Regions from separate parts of the Homo sapiens genome. Here region 1 is linked to region 2. The links are contacts of gene promoters, found by promoter capture Hi-C in human tissues and cell types (Jung and others, 2019). All regions are on one chromosome and are shown on one strand. Each heading gives the region's core, a stretch centred on a gene start or on the middle of the fragment in contact. The rest is flanking DNA. Distances are from core to core; before and after follow the strand shown.

What was found. The method cuts DNA at HindIII sites, captures the fragments that hold promoters and counts their contacts. A contact is called where the count stands out against the background at its distance.
Region 1: a fragment that was not itself captured here is called in contact with the fragment with the promoter of PPM1F in region 2 in 3 of the 25 tissues and cell types used here (heart left ventricle, lymphoblastoid cells and mesendoderm cells).

The regions. Positions count from the first base shown.
Region 1 is chr22:21,617,573-21,621,597 of GRCh38, forward strand. UBE2L3 (ubiquitin conjugating enzyme E2 L3) reads left to right here. Exons shown (of 4, transcript NM_003347.4): 4 at 3,943-4,025. Among named protein-coding and RNA genes, the nearest start is that of YDJC, 10 kb to the right of the region's middle. The HindIII fragment of the contact is 9,374 bases long and covers 1-4,025 here.
Region 2 is chr22:21,950,199-21,954,641 of GRCh38, forward strand. It overlaps PPM1F (protein phosphatase, Mg2+/Mn2+ dependent 1F), which reads right to left and starts at 2,650. Exons shown (of 8, transcript NM_014634.4): 1 at 2,594-2,650. RefSeq lists enhancers at 1,803-1,872, 1,919-2,439 and a silencer at 2,433-2,842. The HindIII fragment of the contact is 12,140 bases long and covers 1-4,443 here.

The DNA of each region.
Region 1 (4,025 bases), core at 14-2,513, 330 kb before region 2:
ATGTTTTTAAGCCCCTACATTTTGCAGAAAAAAAAAGTACTTCTGAGGAGCATTTGGGTCATGGAAGAGACCAAGAACCCAGGGCTGGATGTTTTATAAAATATAATTTTAATATGCTGTCCTATATATGAAAAATGTTGATAGAGGGCCACAGTTGTAATTTGTAAAGCAGACAATCTGTCAGGTGTTCTTACTAGCAAAATAAGTTCAGCTCAGCTGAAGTTTATTATAGTTTAGCTAAGGAGCCAGAAATGCACCCAGGGGAACAGCGAAAGAATGAAATACTTATCAGAACTACTAAGTAAATTTAAAAATACTCAGACTTGAGGCCGGGCATGGTGGCTCATGCCTGTAATCCCAGCACTTTGGGAGGATGAGATGGGTGGATCATGAGGTCAGGAGATCAAGACCATCCTGGGTAACATGGTGAAACCCCATCTTTACTAAAATTACAAAGAATTAGCAAGGCGTGGTGGCGGATGCCTGTAGTCCCAGCTACTGGGGAAGTTGAGGCAGGAGAATCCCTTGAACCCAGGAGGTGGAGGTTTCAGTGAGCTGAGATTGTGCCACTGCACTCCAGCCTGGGCGACAGAGTGAGACGCCATCTCAATTAAAAAAAAAATTCAGACTTGATCAAATTAGTGAAACTATAAAAAATAACGAAATAGACAAATGGCATCTTTTGAGAAATAGGTCTTTAAATTTTTATTTTGCCAGGTGCAGTGGCTCACGCCTGTAATCCAGCACTTTGGGAGGCGGAGGCAGGTGGATCACGAGGTCAGGAGATCGAGACCATCCTGGCTAACACGGTGAAACCCCGTCTCTACTAAAAAATTACAGAAAATTAGCCGGGCATGGTGGCAGGTGCCTGTAATCCCACTACCCGGGAGGCTGAGGCAGGAGAATGGCATGAGCCTGGGAGGCGGAGCTTGCAGTGAGCCGAGATTGTGAGCTGTGATTGTGCCACTAACTCAGCCTGGGCGACAGAGCGAGACTCCATCTCAAAAAATATATATATATATTATTTTTTTTTTGCGATAGGGTCTTGCTGTGTCACTCAGGCTGAGTATAGTGGCACAATCACAGCTCACTACAGCCTCAATATTGTGGGCTCAAGCAATCATCCCACCTCAGCCTCCCAAGGAGCTGGGACTACAGGCATGTGCCACCACAACCGGCTAATTTTATTTTTTATTTTTTGTAGAGGCCAGGTCTTGCTATGTTGCCCAGGCCAGTCTCAGACTCCTGGCCTCAAGTGATCCTTCCTCCTTGGCCTCCCAAAGTGCTGGGAATACAGGTGTGAGCCACCAACCTCTGCATTAGTTACCAAGGTGATGATAGTGAGAAGTAGAGAGCCTAAGTATTCATATCAGAGAGTGAGGTGAAAACTCCTGAGCGTGCCCCTAACGAAGTACTCAGCCTGTCCTTAGCCCAGTGAGGTTTCTAAAATGCTAATGCGGTAGTAATTCTCCTGTTACAGGGCCATTTCTAATCATGGGAAAGGAAGGGGAGCCACCTATTTGTGCTCTTAGGCGACTGTGGCTCAATTTCCAGCCCTGAAGTCAAGAACAGCCAGGAAAAGGGAGCAGTCTCACACCGAGGGTGGTGTGCACTGAAATACACTGTGGCCAGTCAGCCAAGGGTGGGCTTCGTTTATTAAATAAATAAATAAATGTTTATTAAATAAAAATATACCTCCAGGGCCTGCTGCCTCTAGAGGTACAGGTGGCTTGTACAGGGAGGTGATACCACCTACCCCTGAAGAGGCTTAGAGACTGAATTAGAGGCCACCCTGGCCTGCAGAGAGCTTTCCAGGCCCCTTGCCCCTGCTTGCTGTTCACAGTCCACCCTCCTTGCCCATCCACCCCCAACAAACGTGGAACCTGTCAGCATTGCATGCGCAATGCCCTCCTCGCCTCTGCCCCACTGCTTCACCTCTACCCACTGTGGTCACAGGAGCCCTCTCTTTCCCATTCTCACCAGGCACAGTAAAAAGCAGAGGTTAGGCAGGTGGGTTTTGGACACCAGGCCAGGAGTACTTTGTGCTGTGGCCCTCACTTAATGTGTGCTGTTGAATGATTATGCCTTTGCATATGACTCAGCCAGCATCAGCATTTTGTTTTATTTATTTACTTTTGAGACAGAGTCTCGCTCTGTTGCCCAAGCTAGAGTGCAGTGGCACGATCTCGGCTCACTGCAACTGCCGTCTCCCGGGTTCAAGCGATTCTCCTGCCTCAGCCTCCTGAGTAGCTGGGACTCTAGGCATGGGCCACCATGCCTGGCTAATTTTTGTATTTTTAGTAGAGACGGGGTTTCACCATGTTGCCCAGGCTGGTCTTGAGCTCCTGACCTCAGGTGATCTGCCTGGCTAGCATTTGCATTTTAATCCATTTCTTGTAATGCTGAATGAACAATATGAGCCCTTAATAAAGGAATTGACCAGGTGCAGTGGCTTCATGCCTGTCATCCTAGCACTTTTGGGAGGATGAGGCGGTAGGATCACTCAAGCCCAGGAGTTTGAGACCAGCCTGGGCAACATAGTGAGACCCCATCTCTACAAAAAACTAGGCCAGGAGCAGTGGCTAACACCCGTAATCCCAACTACTCTCAAGGCCAAGGTGGGAGGATTGTTTGAGCCCAGGAGATAAGACTGCAGTGAGCTGTGATTGCACCACTGTACTCTAGCCTAGGTTAAAAAAAAAAATTAGCTGGACGTGATGGCATGTGCTTGTAGTCTCAGCTACTCAGGAAGCTGAGGCAGGAGGATCATTTACACCCAGGAGTTTGAGGGTACCGTGCAGTAAAGTATGATTGAGCCACTGCACTCCAGTCTGAGTGACAGCAAGACTGTCTAAAAAAAATAAGAAGGAATTTGTGGCATCAGCAGTTCGGAGAAGAGGGGCACTGTTTTACAGTGGGAAGGAACATTCTGAGGGTGCTGGTCCTGACAGGGTCAGGGGGCAACTGTGGCAAAGTATGTGAGGAGGTGTGGGTAGCAGCTGCTTCTGATTCCCCACTATCCTTCCACCCTGGGGCACGTCTGGGCTACGGCACCTAGGGGGAGTACTGTGGCACCCATCAGAGCCATCAGCGTGACATCTGCCTGTGGTCTTGACAATGTGATGCGATGGCGGTTGTCAGCTTCCCATTGGCTGGCCCCAGTGACCCTTTCTAGAGGGTTCAGAAACTCCTAAGGGTCTTCCAGAGTTGGGTCATTGCGCATTGACAAGTGCAGCGCCATCACATACCCTTCTCTCTAGTGCCCACTCAGTCACCTTAACCGAAACTTCCCTGAGCCGAGCATGGTGCTGGGTGCTGGGCTGATGCAGGGAAGTTCTACCCGGTCCTGCCCTGAAGAAAGTGACCCTGTGTGCATGCATGAGAGTGAGCAGTCAGTTCAATACTAGGCCTCCTATCTCCAGAGTACACAAGAGGACTGGATTAGCCGGGCATGGTGGTGCACGACTGTAGTCCTGGCTACTTGGGGGACTGAGGCTGGAGGATTGCTTGAGGTCAACCCAGGAGGTTGAGGCTGCAGTGAGCCAAGATGGTGCCACTGCACTGCAGCCTAGGTGACAGAGTGAGACCCTGTCCCTCCTCCCCAACCCCCCGCCAAGAAAAAAGGGCTGGGAGTGACTGAGGGCTAAGACCTCCCCAGGTGTTAGGTCAGGAAGGCTTCCTGGAGGCGGAAGCACATCACTGTGAACAATTATCCACTGTAGTGTTAGCTATTTGTTGTCCATCAGTGTCTTCTAATCACAGAGGAAAGATGAGTTTTCTGGCAGTCAGAATTTTGGATAAATAGGAGGCAGCTTTGGCTTAAAAGCACATTAGCTGTAAATCAGTTGTAAAGCCAGAGTTTTGTTCCCGGATTAGCTGCCTCTTGCCTGTGCCATTTCTGAGACTGTGTTAACCCCCCATGCCTTGTCCTTCTCTTGGCAGTAATCCAGTCCCTCATAGCACTGGTGAATGACCCCCAGCCTGAGCACCCGCTTCGGGCTGACCTAGCTGAAGAATACTCTAAG
Region 2 (4,443 bases), core at 1,400-3,899:
TTCCATTTCTGTGTACCCCCCACCCTAGGGCAGCCCCTCCCCTCCTTGTTTTGTGGTGCCCTCCTTCCATTTTGCCTCCCGAGATCTCTCAGATCCTTTGAGGCTTTGCTGAAATCTCCCCATCTTTGGATCCAGCATGCTCTCTTTCATGTCTCTATGGCACTTTTGCTCACATCTGACTTGTAAAAAGTTTTTTTTTTTTTAATTTAAAATATTTATTTTCCTCTAGTGCATTAGTTTTGACTCCTAAGCTTAACGAATGCAGGGTTTAACAACTGCAGTTTTTTAGGGGACATAGAAAAAATACTTGTTGAGTCTTGCTTAACTGCAGAACCAAGGTAATGAAAAAAACCCAGCAATCCTTAGAAAAGGGAACTGCACCACTATAGTGTAACAAAAGCATCATTCATGTTAACTGTTTTTTTTTGTTTTTGTTTTTTTTGAGACAGAGTCTTGCTCTGTCACCCAGGCCGGAGTGCAGTGGCGCAATCTTGGCTCACGGCAACCTCCGCCTCTCAGGTTCAAGTGATTCTCCTGCCTAAGCCTCCCTAGTAGCTGGGATTACAGGCACCCACAACCACGCCTGGCTAATTTTTTTGTATTTTTAGTAGAGATGGGGTTTCACCATGTTGGCCAGGCTGGTCTCGAACTCCTGACCTCAGGTGATCTGCCCGCCTCAGCCTCCCAAAGTGCTGTGATTACAGGTATGAGACACCACGCCTGGCCAACCTTTTTCTACCAAAAGAGATTCTTATTTCTTTATTCATAACTACTAATACTAATAATAGTTAGATGTAAATCCTAGATTTTTTTTCTACATATATAAATTTTTTTTATTGTTGTAAAATATACACACTATGTATCCTTTTAACCATTTCTAAGCGTACAGTTCCATGGCATTAAGCATAGTCACATTGCTGTGCAATGACCATTTCTTTCTACAGGCCTGACTTTCTTGATAGACTGTAAGCTCCCTGTAGTCAGGGAGCCCACGATGGCCCTTTGTGTACAGCAGGTGGTAAGTGTGATGGCAGAGGGAAGAGTGACTGGCGGGTGGCATGGGCTGAGGAAGCTACACCACTCTGAAGGGTGCAGTGGGCAGCAGCGCCAGGTCTTAAAAGACTCGGTTGGCTTCAGGTCAGATGGTATCCTTTTTTTTTTTTTTTTTTTTTTTGAGAGGGAGTTTCGCTCTTGTTGCCCAGGCTGGAGTGCAATGGTGGGATCTCAGCTCACTGCAACCTTCGCCTCCCAGGTTCAAGCAATTCTCCTGCCTCAGCCTCCTGAGTAGCTAGGATTACAGGCACCTGCCACCACGCGCGGCTAATTTTTGTATTTTTAGTAGAGATGGGATTTTGCCATGCTGGTCTGGAACTCTTGACCTCAGGTGATATGCCTGCCTCGGCCTCCCAAAGTGCTGGGATTACAGGTATGAGCCACCGCGCCCGGCCTTCAGGGGGTATCTTAAAGGAATTCCACAAATGAACTTGTGTAGAGGTTCATGGCTTTCAGAAATGCATTCGTTTTGTTTACCTCTCACAACTACGCTGAGAAGTACATACTGTCAGGCTACACTGCAGATGAAGAAATAGGTTATAGGAGGGCAAGCACCCATTTAAGGTCTCACACAGGTGAAAGGGCAAAGCGAACTCAATCAAGGTCTCTGGATGCCCAATGCCTTTGGTATTTCCACCTCGCGTGCAGGAGGAAAAGAGCGAAATTTGACAACAGAAGAGACTGGAGATGGCCTCAGAGTGCTGGCCGGCCCCACTTTCTATCCCCCGTGGTGAGAGCTCAGCTGGGCCCAGAGAACTTGTCCCGGGGAATGCCACCACGACATGTGTGACTCTGTCCCGCAGGGTGGAAGGCTTCGAAGGAGCCCGCCACCATGCAGTGGGCCTCACTGTGTGTCAAGCGCTGTGCCGAAATCCCTGCAGCCGGAGCCAGTTCTTCCTGTTGTACAGACAGGTTCAGGGGCTTGCCTGACCGAACCCAGCGGCAATGTGCCCGGCCTCCGCGCCTGAGGCTCTGGCTCACAGACCTGTGGCTGAAGCAGCTGCAGCCCGAGCACTTGTGCAGCTGACGCTCGCTTCACGGACGCTTGGGAGGCCGCGGAGCCGGGGGCCATCAGGCAGACTGGGCCCCTGAAGGTGCAGGGACTGGGGGGATATGGGGCAACGTGCCGGCCCAGAGGCTCCTGGGGGGTGGGGAGAGGCCAAATCTCGGAAAATGGGGCGCGTCCCCCTCAGCACCCGATTCTGCCTCATAGCCCTCGGTCCCTACCAGGCCCTCGGCTCGGCCACACCCCCGCCTGCCCCCCAGTTCTGCCCCCTTGGCTCCCCAGCCCCCCAACTCCCAGCCTCGGGTTCCTCATGTCCGCAGCGGCCCCTCTTGCTCCTCGGCCCCCCGCACTGCACCCCCGCACCCTTTCGGTGCACCCATGTGAGCCTCGTCTCGGCCTCCTTGCCTCCCCAGCCCTCTGATTCCACCCCTCCGGTTCCTCGGTCCCATTTCACCCCTGTGCGCCTTGGGCGCTCGCCTGACCCTCGTCCCAGCCCCGTCAGCCCTCTAATCCCGTCCCCCCCGGCCTCCTCACCCCTGGTCTCCGCGGGCCTCAGCTGTCTCCTCGCGGCTCCGTGTCCCGCAAGCTGCTGCCGGCCGGCCCCGCCCACTTCCCGTCCCTGGCCGCCGCGGGCGCCGCGGGCGCCGCGCAGGCGCAGTCGGGCCTCCAGGCTGGCGGGGCCGGACCTCTGCTGCCCCCTGGCGGCTACGTGGACGGTGACTGCGGCCCTTTAGTGGTAGGCGAACTGCGGCTCCACCTGGGCTCCGGAGCCGCCCCAGTCACCAGCCTCTTGCTTCTCTTCTGCAGCTTTGGGTGGGCGGCTGGATGGGGAAAGCAATCCCTAGGTCACAGCGCCCAGAAATTAAGCAACTTCTGCCGTCAATAGCTGGTAAGTGACAGAGCAGGGATGCAAACCCAGACTGCCCAGGCAGGCTCATCCGTCCGGGAAGGAGGCACAGTCCCAGGCTCATTATGAGTTGTTTGTTTCCACAAACGTTGAGGCTTTTGTTATCTTTCCGTTCTGGAGGTCAGAAGTCCACTTAGCCTCAGTGGGCGAAGATCCAGGGATCGCCAGAATGCGTTCCTTTCTGAGGATTCTAGGGGAGAAACTGTTCCCCTGCCTTTTCCAGCTCCTAAGGGCTCCCTGCATACCTTGGCTCGTGGCCCCTTCCTACAGCCTCGAAGCCAGCAATGGCCAGTTGAGCCTTTCTCACACTGCCACCTCTGGTTCCCTCCTCTGCTTCCTTCTGCTACTTCTAAAGACCCTCCTGATGCCATTGGGCCCACCCAGATAGTCCAGCATCATCTCTCTAAATCAGTTGATTAGCAACCTTAATTCCCCTTTGCCCCTTATTATTATTATTATTTTTTTTTGACACGGAGTCTCACCCTGTCACCCAGGCTGTACTGCAGTGGCATGACCTCGACTCACTGCAACCTCTGCCTCCCTGGTTCAAGCGATTTTCCTGCCTCAGCCTCCCGAGTAGCTGGGACTGCAGGCACGCACCACCATGCCCGGCTAATTTTTTTTGTATTTTTAGTAGAGATGGGGTTTCACCATGTTGGTCAGGCTGGTCTCAAACTCCTGACCTCAAATGATCTGCCTGCCTCGGCCTCCCAAAGTGCTGGGATTACAGTACAGGCGTGAGCCACTATGCCGGGTCTGCCATGTAATCTAACACAGGCACAGGTATAGGACATGAACATCTCTGAAGGGCCATTTTTCTGCCAACACAGAGGCTCTTGAAAATATTCTTTTTCTCTCTTTTTAGAGACAAGCTCCTTCTCTGGTGCCCACACTGGAGTGCAGTGGCATGATCACAGCTCACTGCAGCCTCAAACTCCTGGGCTCAAGTGACCCTCCCCTCCTGCCTCAGCCTTCCTAGTGTCTGGGAACACAGGCAAGCACCACCACGCCCAGCTGATTAAAAAAAATTTGTAGAGACAGGGTCTCTATGTTGCCCAGGCTGGTCTTGAACTCTTGGGCTCAAGTGATCCTCCTGCCTCAGCCTTCCCAAGTGCTGGGATTATAGGTGTGAACCATTACACCTGGCCAAAATATTTTATTTTAAAGGCAGAAGAAAGAAACCTTTATGTCAAAGAAAATGTTTTAATATATGATATTAATATATTCACCTTTATACCAATGCCGTTGGAAAGTATAATTTTTTAAATGGAGGATGGGGCACCAGATCTTATGTGGCTCTGCCCACCTGACCTTCAGGTCCGCAGGCCTGTGTCCTTGCCAGGAATGAATGTCTCTGGGATGCTTCTCTAACAGGAGGAACCTGGAGTGAGACCAGGAACCTGGAGAACTAGCAGCTGGGTGACTGGAAAGGAAACCATCTGGGGTGGGGTTGGGTCTGCAAGGCAGGAGGTGTCTG